Regions from separate parts of the Homo sapiens genome. Here region 1 is linked to region 2. Evidence: promoter capture Hi-C in human tissues and cell types (Jung and others, 2019). All regions are on one chromosome and are shown on one strand. The core of a region is centred on a gene start or on the middle of the fragment in contact, and the rest is flanking DNA. Distances in the headings are between cores, read along the strand shown. Region 1 has its middle 66 kb from the start of GNA13. Region 2 holds the start of RGS9 (regulator of G protein signaling 9).

The links. The method cuts DNA at HindIII sites, captures the fragments that hold promoters and counts their contacts. A contact is called where the count stands out against the background at its distance.
Region 1: a contact is called between a fragment that was not itself captured here and the fragment with the promoter of RGS9 in region 2, in 3 of the 25 tissues and cell types used here (adrenal gland, hippocampus and liver).

Annotation. Positions count from the first base shown.
Region 1 is chr17:64,988,766-64,993,293 of GRCh38, reverse strand. No RefSeq gene overlaps it. Among named protein-coding and RNA genes, the nearest start is that of GNA13, 66 kb to the left of the region's middle. The HindIII fragment of the contact is 5,935 bases long and covers 1-4,528 here.
Region 2 is chr17:65,134,710-65,139,354 of GRCh38, reverse strand. RGS9 (regulator of G protein signaling 9) reads right to left here and starts at 1,985. Exons shown (of 19, transcript NM_003835.4): 1 at 1,758-1,985. The coding sequence starts at 1,814. RefSeq lists a silencer at 1,796-2,295. The HindIII fragment of the contact is 16,688 bases long and covers 1-4,645 here.

The DNA.
Region 1 (4,528 bases), core at 433-2,932, 150 kb after region 2:
CCCACAGCCCCTTTCAGAATGGCTCACACCTAGGAGTTGCTTGATCTACATTCATTTTATTGAGAAGGGAACAGGGAGATCACAGACGCCATGGGGCCATCTTGGAGGGCCTGTCATGCTCCTTACCCCTTCCTCACCAAGCACTTCCTCTGGCATTGGCTGGAGGGAAAGGTAGCCATTTGGGCTATGTTTGACAGATGAGAAAGCTGAGTCTCAATGAAGTTTTTAGTTTATACACTTGCCAAGGACCAAATGATAAATTGGCAGATTGAGGTTGAAAGCCTAGTATGCTTATTTTTTGTTGAAAACTAGGGAAATAAATTTACTTTTCAGAAATTGATTTTCAGGTAAATTTCTCTGAATGCATCTAATCTGTAGAGCAACATATATATGTATTTTTTTTACATTTTTGTTTTATTATTTTTTAATTTTAATTTTTTTTTGAGACTGGGTCTCACTTTGTCGTCCAGGCTGGAGTGCAGTGGTGTGACCATGGCTCACTGCAGCCTGGATCTCCTGGCTCCTGGGCTCAAGTGATCCTCCCACCTCAGCCTCCCGCCCTGAGGAATGTGCCACTATGCTTGGCTAGTTTTCTTGTATTTTTTTTAGTAGAGAGGGGTTTCTCCCATGTTGTCCAGGTTGGTCTCAAATTCCTGGGCTCACGTGATCCACCTGCCTCAGCCTCCCAAAGTGCTGGGATAACAGGCATGAGCCATCGTGCCCGAGGGCTTGTGTTTGACCAGACATCACTCTCCATGAGTCATCCAGCACTGTGCCTTGCATGGGGACATATTTGCTATTTGTGTGGTTTGTGTCTTTTTGGCATACAGAATTACCTTTCTTTCCTTCTTGAAACTGTGGATAGGTTATATGAGCAATCATGAGGTCACCACCACCTCCACCAATTTGGAAATAGGGAACTAGTATTTCCCTTGGAGAGTGGGTGGCCAGGTTTTACAAATAAAAATACAGGGTGCTTAGTTAACTAGAATTTCAAATGAACAACCAATCACTTTTAATGTAAATATATCCCATGAAATTTATGGGACATGCTTATACTAAAAAATTACTCATTGTTCATCTGAAATTCCGATGTGACTGAGAATCCTGTATTGTTTTGGCAATTACAAAACGGTAAAACTGTAAAACCAATGCATATGGATTAGAAGAAATATAAAGTTCTAATGTAAAGAAATGTAAAGTTACCTTAAGAGATCAGAATGAGTTCTTTAGCAAGATTTGGTTACAACTGAAGTTTGTAAAAAAAAAAAAAAAAAAGGTATATTTATAAAAACACTTCTAACCTCTTGTAAGGTACCTTAAGAACATGTCAATCAGAAAGGGGGTTAGGGCCGGGCGTGATGTCTCACGCCTATAATCCCAGTGCTTTGAGAGGCCAAGGTTGGAGGATCACTTGAGCCCAGGAGTATGAGAGCAGCCTGGGCAACATAATGAGACCCCATCTCTACAAAAAAATAAAAATTATCTGGGTGTGGTGGCCTACGTCTGTAGTCCCAGCTACTCAGGAGGCTAAAGCAGGAGGATTGCTTGAGTTTGGGACTTTGAGGCTACAATAAGCTGTGATCATGCCACTGCACTTGAGCCTGGGTGACAGAGCAAGACCCTATCTCAAAAAAAAAAAAAAAGGTGAGGAGATTGATCAACAATACAAAATGAAGGGTCAAAGAGAAAAACTTTGGGCTCGGTGTGGTGGTTCATGCCTATAATCCCAGCACTTTGGGAGGCTGAGGTGGGTGGATCGCTTGAAGCCAGGAGTTTGAGACCAGCCTGGCCAACATGGAGAAACCCCATCTCTACTAAAAACACAAAAATTAGCTGGGTGTGGTGGCACATGCCTGTAATCCCAGCTACTCGGGAGGCTGAGGCACAAGAAATTTATTGAACCCAGGGAGCGGAGGTTGCAGTGAGCTGAGATCGCACCATTGCACTCCAGCCAGAGCAAGACTCTGTCTCAAAAAAAAGAGAGACAAACTTTGGTCATTCTCCTGAATGCCATCTGGAAGCATCAACTTCCAGGCTGAGATGGCTTGGATCTTATTGTGGAGATGCACTTGCCAAGTGTCTTAGTCAGCTTGGGCTGCTACCACAGAGTATCATAGGCTGGGTGGATTACACAACAAGCATTCATCACTCACAGCAGAGGCTAGGAAGTCCAAAGTCAAGTGCAAGTATAGTTGGGTTCTGGGGAGGGCTCTCTTCCTGGTCCTGAGATGACCAACTTCATGTTGTGTCCTCACACGGCTGGGAGAGAGAAAGAGGATGCACCAAACTTTGAGGGGTAGGGACCATTAGGGTCATCAACTAATTACCCATGTTTACCAAGAAAGCTTGTTATAAATTGGCTTCCCGGCCGGGCGTGGTGGCTCATGCCTGTAATCCCAGCACTTCGGGAGGCCAACGTGGGTGGATCACCTGAGGTCAGGAGTTCGAGACCACCCTGGCCAACATGGAGAAACCCCGTCTCTACTAAAAATACAGAAATTAACTGGGTGTGGTGATGGGCACTTATAATGCTAGCTACTTGGGAGGCTAAGGCAGGAGAAGCACTTGAACCCAGGAGGCAGAGGTTGCAGTGAGCTGAGACTGCACCACTGCACTCCAGCCTGGGTGGCAAGAGTGAAACTCTGTCTCAAAAAAAAACCAAAAAGGAATTGTCTTCCCGTGCCTCCCGGGAGTGAAGGTACTATCTATGAACCTATGTCCCCAGCCCTCTGAAGGTGACGATTCAATACAAAGCCATTGGGGTTTTTCTACATCATTGTCTCTATGAGCTTGGATGATATGAGGCTGATCCATTCTTTGATTCTTTTTTTTTTTTTTTGAGACAGGATCTTGCTCTGTTGCCCAGGCTGGAGTGCAGTGGCATGATCTTGGCTTACCGCAGCCTCGTTCTCCTGGGCCAGGTGATCCTCCCACTTCAGCCTCCTAAGTAGCTGGGACCACAGGTGCATGCCACCACACCTGCTTAAGCTGATCCATTCTTGCTGTGCTGGGTCACCCCCAGGTGACACTCAATGTCAGTTAGTTGTGTTTTATTCCAACAACTACACTTTGTTTTTCTGGATCGCTGCTACAGCAAATGGCAGATTCCATTTCTTCAGGATATAAATGCACAATAAGAACAAGTAGCGACCAGGCTCAGTGGCTCACACTTGTAATCCCAGCACTTTGGGAGGCCAAGGTAGGCAGATCACCTGAGGTCAGGAGTTTGAGACCAGCCTGACCACATGGAAAAACCCTGTCTCTACTAAAAATACAAAATTAACTGGGCATGGTGGTGCACTTTGGGAGGCTGAGGGGGGTGGATCACTGGAGTCCAGGAACTCAAGACCAGACTGGGCAACATAGCAAGACTCCATCTCTAAAAAAAAAAATTAAGATTAACCAGGGTGTGGTGGCATATGCCTGTAGTCCCAGCTACGTGGAGGCTGGGGTGAAAGGATTGCCTGAACCCAGGAGGTCAAGGCGGCAGTGAGCTGTGAGAGCACAGCCTGGGCAACAGAATGTCACCTTGTCTCTAAAAAAACACAAAAACCAAAACAAAACAACTCACTGCATTATTTTAAAAAAAACATATGTATCTTATGGGCCGGGTGCGGTGGCTCATGCCTGTAATCCCAGCACTTTGGGAGGCCGAGGTGGGAGGACTGCTTGAGCTCAGGAATTCAAGGCCAGCCTGGATAATATAGTGAGACATCTATACTACAATTCAAAACAAGAATAAAAAAATTAGCTCGGCATGGTGGCACACACCTATAGTCTTAGCTGCTCAGAGGGCTGAGGTGGAAAGAATGCTTGAGCCCAGGAGGTCAAGGATAAAGTGAGCCCTGATTGTGCCACTGCACTTCACAGAGTGAAGAGTGGGTGACAGAGTGAGACCCTGTCTCAAAAAAAAAAAAATAGCTAGGTAGATAGATGTATCTGCAAATGATTCTTAGGAGCAGCCCAGGCCTAGAGAGTTAAACCACCCATAGTGACTCACATCAACAGGCTCTTTTGTCAGAGGGCATTTCCATAATTAGAACTTGTGACCAACAAGTCCAGCCACGAGGATATATCACAAGTACTTGTCTCCAGCGCTGGTTTCTTAGCAAAAAAAGAACCTGTTAAATGTCAGGGCTTTGTGTTTTTGCCTTTGGGCTTTTGCCATGCCTGGTTATTGGGCACCTTCTGGTAATAAACAGTTAGTTGAAAGGAGCTGTTCCCATGTCTTATTTAATTCTCTCATTAAGCCTGTGGGCCAGAGGTTCTTATTGTTCATACCCCTGGATAAACACACTGAGTCCCAGGGAGGTAAAGTGCCTTGGCCGAGTGCCACCCAGGAGCTGGTGGTGCCTCAGCTGAACCCAAGTCCACGGACCGTGGAGTTCGCGCCCTCTCACTGTGGCACACGGGCCTGAGCCTCAGGAACACTGCAAAGTAGGTTGGCTTCCCCCTTACGGAGCCCCTACCCGGGACAGCCTCAATCCCTCAGGGCCCCTCTGTGCCCAGGTGCCTGCTTGGCTGA
Region 2 (4,645 bases), core at 736-3,235:
AGGTCAAGGAGGTCACCATTGATTTGGGGGAAAAAAACAGTGTGTGTAGGAAAGCTGTCATGGAGGAGGGGAGACCGGGGTGGAAGATGGGGAGCTGGGATGCAGGAGGGGGAGGTTAGGGTAGAGGAGAGGTAAGTTAGGATGGAGGAGGAGAAGGCTGGGGAGGAGGAGGAGGATGGGGTAGAGGAAGGGGAAGACAGGGTGGAGGAAGAGGACCTGGGGTGGAGGAGGGAAAGGTGGGGTGGAGGGGGGAGAGCTGGGGTGGAGGAGGGGAGCTGGAATGGAGGAGGGAGAGGTTAGGGTGGAGGAAGGGAGACTAAGGTGGAGGAGGGAGAGTTTGGGTGGAGGAGGGGATGCTGGGGTGGAGGAGGGGATGCTGGGGTGGAGGAGGGGTGGCTGGGGAGGAGGAGGGAAGCCTGGGGTGGAGGAGAGAAACTAGAGACCAAGACACTAGTCAGAAGACCAAGGTAAGGAGAGGAGAATCTACCAGAGAAGAGTCATGATGGAAAAGAATGCCAGAGATTCAATAAACAAACTGAATTTATCTCTTGACAATTACCCTCTGAGCCCCCAAGCCAGAGCTGTCCTGCCTGGGAGGAGACAGTCCTAGGATAAATCCTGGAAGATGATGTGTGGCTTTGAGATAGCCGACTTAGGCAGTTTCTTCTGCTTTTAGTAACTGGTATCTGCAATACAGGCTCTCAGGGTTCTTTCTGAGTGAGACAACATTCAGCCTGTCTGCTTTACAGATGATACCCACACCTCTGCTACCCGGAAGATGAGCACGAGCATCTTGAAACAGGTGGACCAAATGCGACCGTCTCGGGGTCCCCAGGACTGTCCAGGTTTTAGCATTGAAAGTCCTGGGCAAATCAGGACAGCGGTCACTGACTATACAAATTTGCTGAGCTCCAGGGGCTCAGGGAGAGCTCAGCTTGTCACAAAACATTCAACTAATTCTACTCAACAAGATAAGCCTAAGAAGATGGACACTACGCTGTGAAAAGTGGCTACGGGTGGGAGGAAGGACAAAGATGTGACCCGGGACCTAATCCTCTGTAGATCTCATCGGACAGTGATTATACCAGAAGCTCAGAACTAAATGAACCACTTTGTCCCCAAACACATCACCCCACAGGTGCATTCCACCTCCCACATGTCCATCCTGTGTGCACACCCTGTGCCCGGTCACTTTGTCTGGGAAAGCATTCGCAAGGGAAGCGAAAAGGTTGGGACTTCTGCCGCCAGCGCAGACAGCAGGAGATGCACAGATAGACACACTCAAATGAGGGCTCTCAGGGCATTGTAAATGGGGTGGCCCTTTATCCTACAAATCACCCCGTTTTCATGGTCTATGTGTACACACACACACACTTTAAAATAGTGCAGTTTGGGATCAGAAAAAAAAGGCAAAAATGGCAATGTCACATCTGGTCGTCTTACAACAATATCAGCAGGCTGTCTCAAATCTGCCACAGCCTGAACTGAACCTGCCTCTCCCGAGTAACAGGTTGTTTTCACCTCCCGCAGACCATCAGCGCTGGCTTCAGATTCTCCACTACAGGCAGGGCACACGAAAACCTAATTATTATAGCCATCAATATCGACACACACAGCAAAGAAGTCACTTAATAAAATCGAGCAGCACAAATCGACCCAAAGGGGTGCTCTCCACTCCTGCCCCTCTTGTCCTCGGACGCTTCGCAGATGCGGTCCCCCGCCCTCCTCCCAGGGTCCAGGTGAGGGGCCAGGGTTACCTTTTGGAGAAATGCCATCCTCGGCCTGTACTGCTGGCCTTGGTGTCGGATTGTCATCCTGGCCCCTGGATGGATTCACAGCCAGAGCACCAGTGGGAGACAAGAGGAGAAGCCCCCCAAGTTCGAAAGGCAGCCTGGCTCGCCCCAGCCCTGGGCGTCGACGGGGAGGCGGCTGGGCGGGGAGGGCGCGGGCCGGGCCCCCCTGACTCTCACTAGGCGCCGCTGACTTGGAAAGCAGCTGGAATCCGCGCCAGCCAATCCGCGAGCGGCGCCGCGGGCTCATTAGCATGCGCTGCGCGGGCGCCCACCTGCCGCCAGGGGGCGCTATCCGGCCCCCGCCGGGACCCCGCGGAGCAGCAGGTGAGACCCGCAGGGCAGGGCCCCGGGAGGAGAAGGAGGAGGAGGACCTGGCGGGAGGAGGAGGAGGACCTAGCGGGAGGAGGAGGAGGACCTGTCGAGAGCAGCGAGCCTTTTAACTTGGGGCGGAGTTATGCACAGAAGTGACACAAAGAGCCCTCACTAATACAGCGCGGTGGAAAATACGGACTTTCCCATCCCAGCTCTGCCACTAACCAGCCGGCAGCCTTGGGCAAGTTCCTTACAATCTCTAAGAATCAATGTCCTTCACTCAAAAGTAAAAATTGAAAAATGGGATCATAATATCGACCAGAAAAGGTTGCTATACCATTTTAATGAGGAGATGTGTAACACAGTGCTTGGCCCTCAATAAATGCTTAGAAAAAAAAATTAGAGGTGGCGATTTAATGACCCAATAGCAGAGGAATTGCTAAGATGTGGGTTTAAAAAGAGAGAGCAAAGAAGTGAAGAAGGAAGAGAGGAAGGTTGTAGTCCTCACCGGGCTAGCTGTCTGGATGAAGCGAATTATATTTTACTTCTCTGATTCTTAGTGTTTCGGTTAGTTGGTTGTTGGGTTTGTTGTTGTTTAACTTTTTTTTTGAGACAGGGTCTTGCTCTGTCACCCAGGCTGGAGTGCAGTGGCGTAATCATGGCTCATTGCAGCTACAACCTCCCAGGCTCAAACAATCCTCCCACCTCAGCCTCCCCAGTAGCTGGGGCTACAGGCACGTGCCACCACACCCCGCTAATTTTTACAAAAATTGTTTGTGGAGAGGGAGTTTCACAAACTCCTGGGCTCAATCGATCTACCCACCTCGGCCTCCCAAAGTGCTGGAATTACAGGAGTGAGCCACTGCAGCTGGCTGGTTTGCTTGTTTTAATAGACTTTATTTCTTAGAGCAGTTTTAGGTTCACAGCACAATTGAGCGGAAGGTATAGGGACACGTCATATATCCCCTCTCCCCACGCACGCACAGCGTCCCCCATGATCAACATCCTCCACTGGAGTGGCCCATTTGTTACAATTGATGAACCTACCTTGACAGCTCATTATGTTAGCGTTTTCATCTTGAGAAAAATGCAAGGATGAAGCCTCTAAGTTATTATCAAGAGCCTTTCTGCTTTGTTATATAAAGCACTTTCTCTTAAACATACTCGATGGTTATTGAGTGTAGCAGATAAAATGTTTAAGTTGGAAGAAAACAAGAAGGCCTTTACCTTAGGAAGGCACAGTCAACCAATGTCCCTTTAAAGCAGTGGTTCTTGGCTGGGTGTGATGGCTCACGCCTATAATTCCAGCACTTTGGGAGGCCCAAGCGGGTGAATCACTTGAAGTCAGGAGTTCAAGACCAGCCTGGCCAACATGGCAAAACCCTATCTCTATTAAAAATACAGAAATCAATCAGCATGGTGGAGCAACCTGTAATCCCAGCTACTCAGGAGGCTGAGGCACAAGAATCACTTGAACCCAGAGGCTGCAGTGAGCCAAGACTGAGCCACTGCATTCCAGCCTGGGTGACAGAGTGAGACTCTGTCTCAAAAAAAAAAAAAAGCAGTGGTTCTTATCCATTCTCTCGGGTGATATTTACCTGTAAGAATCTGATGAAAGCTATGGACACTCAGGAACACACACACATGCACATGTACACAACACTGACTGAAGTTTGCAAACAATTTCAAGAGGTTCATGCTTGGGCCTCTCTTGTGCCTTTTCAGGAATCCCTGATTCAGAGCCTCCAATTTAGAGGACGCTGGACCCTGCAGAGATCCATCCAAGCAGAAGACCAGAGATCCTGCCAAGCAAATTGAACCACTGAGAAGTATGCTCCTGGTGTGAGCTGAGATCCAAAGAAAATGCTGGAATATCTTGATTTTTTTTCTCATGAAGCATCTTTTGAGCCTGGTGTGAGTTTAAATCCAAAGAAAATGCTGGAATATCTTGATTTTTTTTCTCATGAAGCATCTTTTGAGCCTAGTGTTATACAGAGCACATGCTGGGATCTGACCAAGATGAGCTATGAAGTTCCTTCCAGCTTCAACATCCCTTGTCTCTAGAAACCCTAAGCATCAAGAAGATAAGTGGCTTTCCTAAAATGAAGGATGAGAAAAATTATTCAGGAGCAAAGAGAGGCAAAAATAAAAGGCACTTTGCTCATTAATAGAATAGGAGAGGCCTCAGTGCCTGCCACTCTCCTCCCCACCCCTTCTGTCAGGCCCTGCTCTCCAAGCAACTACATTTTGTGGGACCCATCTTTGCTCATTGGACCAGAGGCCAGTTCCCCACATGATAGGACCATGATGTGGATCTGAAAAACGGAGAGGAGCTTGTTAGATTATTACCTTCACAAATGCCAACTTGAGTCAGATAAAGTCAGGGCCACAGGAAGCTGAGACCAAATGCAAGCTGAAGTTATGAGGAAGGAGAAATGAAAGGTGAGCAGAGGAAGCTGATCAGAAAAGGGAGGCAAACAGGCTGGGCGCGGAGGCTCACGCCTGTAATCCCAGCACTTTGGGGGGCCGAAGCGGGCGGA